Regions from separate parts of the Homo sapiens genome. Here region 2 is linked to region 1. The links are contacts of gene promoters, found by promoter capture Hi-C in blood cells and fetal thymus (Javierre and others, 2016). All regions are on one chromosome and are shown on one strand. The core of a region is centred on a gene start or on the middle of the fragment in contact, and the rest is flanking DNA. Distances in the headings are between cores, read along the strand shown.

Region 1 (2,700 bases), core at 184-2,683:
GTGAGCCATGATCATACCATTGCACCCCAGCCTGGGCAACAGAGCAAGACTTATTTTCTCTCTCTCTCCACATATATGTATATATCAAAGTTGGTCTTTACACACAACTTTTATTTAAATGCATGGCCAATTCAAGTAGCAGTTCTTAATTCCTTCTATAAGATTTTAAAGTAATCTGAGGCCTAAAAATTTTAAGTCTATTTTTTGTTTGGAAGACATGACAATAAATCTGCTCCCTCCTCCCATAACATATGTATTAATCCTTTGATTTACATTCTACTTAGAGTTTGACAATGAACCTGAAGTTGACCCTTCCCCCAAATTTACTGGGCCCTTATGAGGGCCAACTATAAATGTATAATATACTAACAAATACTTTGGTTACTTAGTGTATACTCATGTAAGTGTATACTCATACATTTTTATATATTAAGTCCAGGCTCACTCAATATATACAAGTGTATCAGTATAAGCCTTATTGGGAGATAGTCTATTTAAGATAAGATCTCTCTGGATAGGATACAAAAAGGCAATCGCCATTCCCTATGGACACACTTCAAAGGGGGAAGCTTTCAGCTTGGTTTTTGAATATATATAACCAACTCATTAAGGCTGTGTCAGCTCCTCATTAGCACTCAACTCAGAAAGGGTTTCTTGACTACCTCATGAAATAAGGGGTTTTGATAACTATCCCCCAGGAGTATAAAATAGCTTTCCTATTTACTGGAGAAAGCCACAAAATTAGACTTGTAAAATAGGACAAAGCACCCTTTCATTTTCCAAGTCACTTGGTTGGTGTAAAATTTCCATTCTTCTGCTCCTCAGATCATTAATGAACAAGGGATGCGTTTCAAAGGGTTTAAACAAGCAGACCTGAAAATTCTGTTCAGCTTAGTGTATGAAAATCAGATGTTAGATAGCTTTCTTCCCAGGAGGCTGGGGAACGCTCAGCACCTACCAAGGCTTCCTTCCCTACAGTTAGGACTGAGGTGTAGGCTTCCAGATACACTCGACTGCAGCGTCTAACAACTTCCAGGCCCTTGACTGTGATGTCCTTGGCATCTCCCAGGCCCAACCCGATGAGATAAAGCATTTCAAACTTGAGGAGAAGAGAGACTGCAAGACGAAGTGGACAGAAAAACCGTCAGTAACACCGAGGACATCTAAAATCTAGTGATGAACACGATGACAACCAAAGTAGCACAAGAGAAGAGGCAAGTCACAAGGAGGGGTTTGGGAACCTTATGTCACGCTTAAGAACTGGGATAAGAGGTTTTAAACAACCCTACCAGTTTTGCCTCTTGTTACACAAACCTAGGAGCAGCCAATTACCCGCTGAGAGAATCGTAGGTAGTTCTCTGGCCTTTACAAATTCTTAACTACCACCTTTCCGCAGAAGCAACTGCAAAAGCGCCGGCTCCGTGCAGAGAAAAGGCCCACGCCGCCGGCCTCACCTACGGTGCCGCAAAATGCTGGTGCCTTTACTGCACTTTACGACTAGCGGGAGGGGGCCGGGCTAGCGGGCTACTGGGCTGCGGAGACCAGAGCCCGGCTCCACTGAAGAAACCCGCCGGCTGCTGGGGCAGGGCGGCGAAAGGTCAGTCGGCCGAGAGGAGTCCGTGGAGCCACCGTTTCATAGCCTCAGGGAAAGGATCGGGCGTGCTCACGAGCCCTCTAACCCATGGCTTAAACACCCGCTTCCTAAGCCTGGGTAAGTGCAGTAGCTCTTCGCTCGAGAGGAGCCACGTGGAAGAGAGTCGGGAGGGGCCCTGCGCCCTACTCCTCCTCTCCAGAAACAGGGAGGGCTGGGAAGGATTTTCCTGATTTGTCCCCGGATTTGGCCGAGTGCACAGATTTTAATTCCAGTCTTCTCATCCTCCTGTAGTTCAACTAGGTGTCTTCCTGGTGAAGCGTGAGATTGGCAAACCCAGCAGTGAGTGTGCTTCTGATTTCCCAACAAGGCAATGACTCCTTGGGTTTGTCCCCAAGACCTTATGCCTGGAGTGCCCCAAGGATGTTTCAGTCACCCTCAGTGTCAGGAATCCCAGACCTTCCTGTACCTAAAGAAGTGACCTTTAATAGTGCTCAGGGATTTCAGACCTCTCAAGTGTTTCTGCCGGGGGAATTCTTATAAAGCTGTTGGTTACATGTAATTAGAAATAGGGAAGATTTGTTTTGACTGAAAATGCTCTTCCCAAGGTGACCTCATCCAAGTTAAAAAAGACAGCTGTCATTGCTTTTCTTAGCAGGCAGTGTTGGTTACTCAGAATTTTCCTGTTGCCTCCCCGACAATGCCCAACTCCGCTTCCTTGAACCTTGGCTTTTTTTCATTCCCAGGTTCCATCCACCTTTTTGCACTTCCTATCTATAAACTCTTCGTGGCTGTGTTTTATCCCCTCTCATTACGTTGATCTATTCCTCACACCACATACACACCCCAAAAAACTCAAAATGGATCGTAGATGTAAATGGAAAACCTAAACCTATACCAGAAGAAAACATAGGAGGAAATATTCGTGACCTTATTTAGGCAAATATTTCTTAAACCAAAAGCGTGATGAAAAAAATTGATAAATTGGACTTCAACAAAGTAAAAATTTATGCTCTTCAAAAGACTTGAAGCCACATACTGAAAATATTTACAAAGCATGTATCTGATGAAGGACTTGTATGGAGAATATATAAGGAGCACTCAGAAAG
Region 2 (2,700 bases), core at 53-2,552, 410 kb after region 1:
GTTATCCATCAAAATAGTCTACTTAAAACTGTAGAGAGCTATAGCTTAGAAGGAGACATAAATGTATAAATAGATAAATTGATATAAAATGTTGTGAGTGCTTTGATATAGGCACAAATAACTTGTTAAGAAACAACTAACTGCCTGGGAAAGTCTTGGAAAGATACCCTGAGGAGACATTGGAATCTGTCTTGAAGAATAAGTAGAAGTGAGTGTGTGTATGGGTGGGGGTGAGGGGGACTGGGAGTGAGTAAGAATATTTCCACAGAAAGAATAGCCGGTACAAAGATATGAAATCTGGAAAAGGCTGCGTTAAGCCAGGGCAAGAAGTTGAGAATGGCTGGATGGAAGGGCTTATGAAGTGGATTCTCTTTTCAGAAAGAGATGGCTTGAGCCTGGCTATTTGGGGGTTTGCTTGTTCAACCAAGAAGTTTAGATTTTATCTTACAGAAAAAGAGAAGACATCAAGAGGTTTGAAGCATGGGAGTGACTTGATTTGATTTCCAGTTTAGAAAGATAACACTAGTGGCAGTTTTGAATACTTATTTGATGGAGAAGGGAGTGAATCAGGGATACAGGCTGGGTGTAAAGCACTCTGCCCTCCCAGCAGCCCAGGTGGCCTGTTTTTGGTTCAGAAAATAAAGTTACTGTTTATAGAGACAGACTTAACTGGTTGTGATAGATCATTGCAAAATGTTATGCCTGATGTATGAATATTTGCAAAGTAAAATGGAAAATTGTGGCAATTGCTTGGATTATGCAGGGAAACAAAAATTGACTTGAAATACTAACATAAGGAATTTTAAGATGGAAAAAGCATAGATCAACGAGCAAAAGCTTTCTTTTTTTTTCCCCCATGAAATGATCAACTGTAATTTGGCTGGACGTAGTCTTAAGCATATACTCTTATAATCTCATGATTTCAATAGTATGTTTTTCTGTGACATCCTTATGGATCACAAAGTCACAATGGCATAGTATAAAATGGAATCACATTAAAAAATTATATTCTAGGCTGGACGTGGTGGCTCACACCTGTAATCCCAGCAATTTGGGAGGTCGAGGTGGGTGGATCACTTGAGGTCAGGAGTTTAAGACCAGTCTGGCCAACATAGTGAAACCCCATCTCTACTAAAAATACAAAAACATTAGCTGGGTGTGGTGGCATCCGCCTGTAATCTCGGCTACTCAGGAGGCTGAGGCAGGAGAATTGCTTGAACCCTAGAGGTGGAGGTTGCAGTGAGCAGAGATCCCACTGCTGCATTCCAGCCTGGGTGACAGAGCAAGACCCTGTCTGAAAAAAAACCAAAAAGTATTCTTAAAAAAGAAGGCAAAATAAGATTAGTAGAGGAACCAGTGCACATTTGCATATACTTAAAAACTTGTGTACTTTTTAGCTGGCTTGTCGGGATTACAACTCTCAAGCTAGCATAGCTGATGAGCTTTTGATCCCTTTCCTCCTATGGGGTGGGGGATGGTTAGTAAAACAATATGAATAAAAGGAAATGCAGTGGTGCTCAGAAGGAGAAGAGTTTGAGCCGTCTAATTGTTCCCCACATTCCATTTTGCCTTATAGACTTTGCATCGTCTGCCCTTTTTGGCTTGCTGGCTATTCAGTTCCCATTTTCTGCATGTCACAAACAAATGCTCCCAGGATAAAGTCAGAAACAGAACTTGAGTCTATTTCAAAAAAAGATGAGGGAGGAATATGCCTGGATTAAAGCCATGAAACAAATCCCCAAATATCCTTGCTAATTTAACATGAAAATAAGCTTTTAATAGTTTATCTTTATTCATGTTACATGTTTATTTAGTAGCATCTCAGTATTGAGAAAAGTAGATTTTGCAGCCAACTGACAGAAGAGTTTGGTCTGGATACTGGTTGTCCTCCCTGCAGGGATGGTTGGCTCTTGCGCTTGGAATGTCCCGGGGCTTCCCAGTATAGAAATGTGTGCTGGTCAGAACTGATCTCTGGCATGATTGTCAATGGCATCCATGAATTGGCCCACACCAGCACATTTTCCTGCGACTTCTCAGCTTCTGGTCTGTAGCTGCTTTCCGTCATTTTGTATTTGCTGCATACTCCATCAACCTAATAAAGCAGCTGTTTATTATGCGTGACCTGCTCTATAGTGTGACTGATGGATAACTGCAGCATTTAAAGTCTTGTGTTAGATTCTCAGCCTGCTGCCAGCTCTCCATTATATTCCATAAAAATGTTTCTTGTTATGGACTATCAGAAGCAAAAGTAAGTTATTTTAGGGTCAGAGCCAATTTGAACCCTCTAAAGTACTGCCAGATTAGAAGGTGGGAGAAAATAAGAAGCAGTCTGGAAGAAGCTGCAATTAAGGGCATCAAACATATGCACAAAGCATACCTTTTTCATAGTCCTGCATATACAGACACAGAGTATTTTATGTGGAGCATGTGATCCAATATGAGCTGGTATAGTCATATCTGTGAGGTTGGAAGGCTGGTTAAAAGAAAGGCAAGGACAGACAACTCTATTTATTATTTATTATTCACTCTGGTCCAGTGCTTTGCTGTGTTCTACTGCACATTATATGTCATTGATTTTCTAATAATCCCAAGGAGTTTTTTTTTTCTCCCATTTTATTGGTAACGTCTGAGGAAACAAGCTCTGAAAAATTGTGTCAATTTCTTGGCTTCTCACAGATAGTACAGGGTGTGCGGGATGAA

The links. Contacts are between HindIII fragments. The CHiCAGO score rates a contact against its expected background, and 5 or more counts as called.
Region 2: a fragment that was not itself captured here is called in contact with the fragment with the promoter of DPH5 in region 1 in 2 of 17 cell types (total B cells and naive B cells); the score reaches 10.1 in total B cells.

The regions. Positions count from the first base shown.
Region 1 is chr1:101,024,351-101,027,050 of GRCh38, forward strand. DPH5 (diphthamide biosynthesis 5) reads right to left here and starts at 1,434. Exons shown (of 8, transcript NM_015958.3): 1 at 1,333-1,434; 2 at 959-1,116. The coding sequence starts at 1,093. DPH5-DT (DPH5 divergent transcript) reads left to right here and starts at 1,496. Exons shown (of 5, transcript NR_109849.1): 1 at 1,496-1,711. RefSeq lists enhancers at 964-2,163, 1,256-1,365. The HindIII fragment of the contact is 3,765 bases long and covers 568-2,700 here.
Region 2 is chr1:101,438,674-101,441,373 of GRCh38, forward strand. No RefSeq gene overlaps it. Among named protein-coding and RNA genes, the nearest start is that of LINC01307, 120 kb to the left of the region's middle. The HindIII fragment of the contact is 935 bases long and covers 836-1,770 here.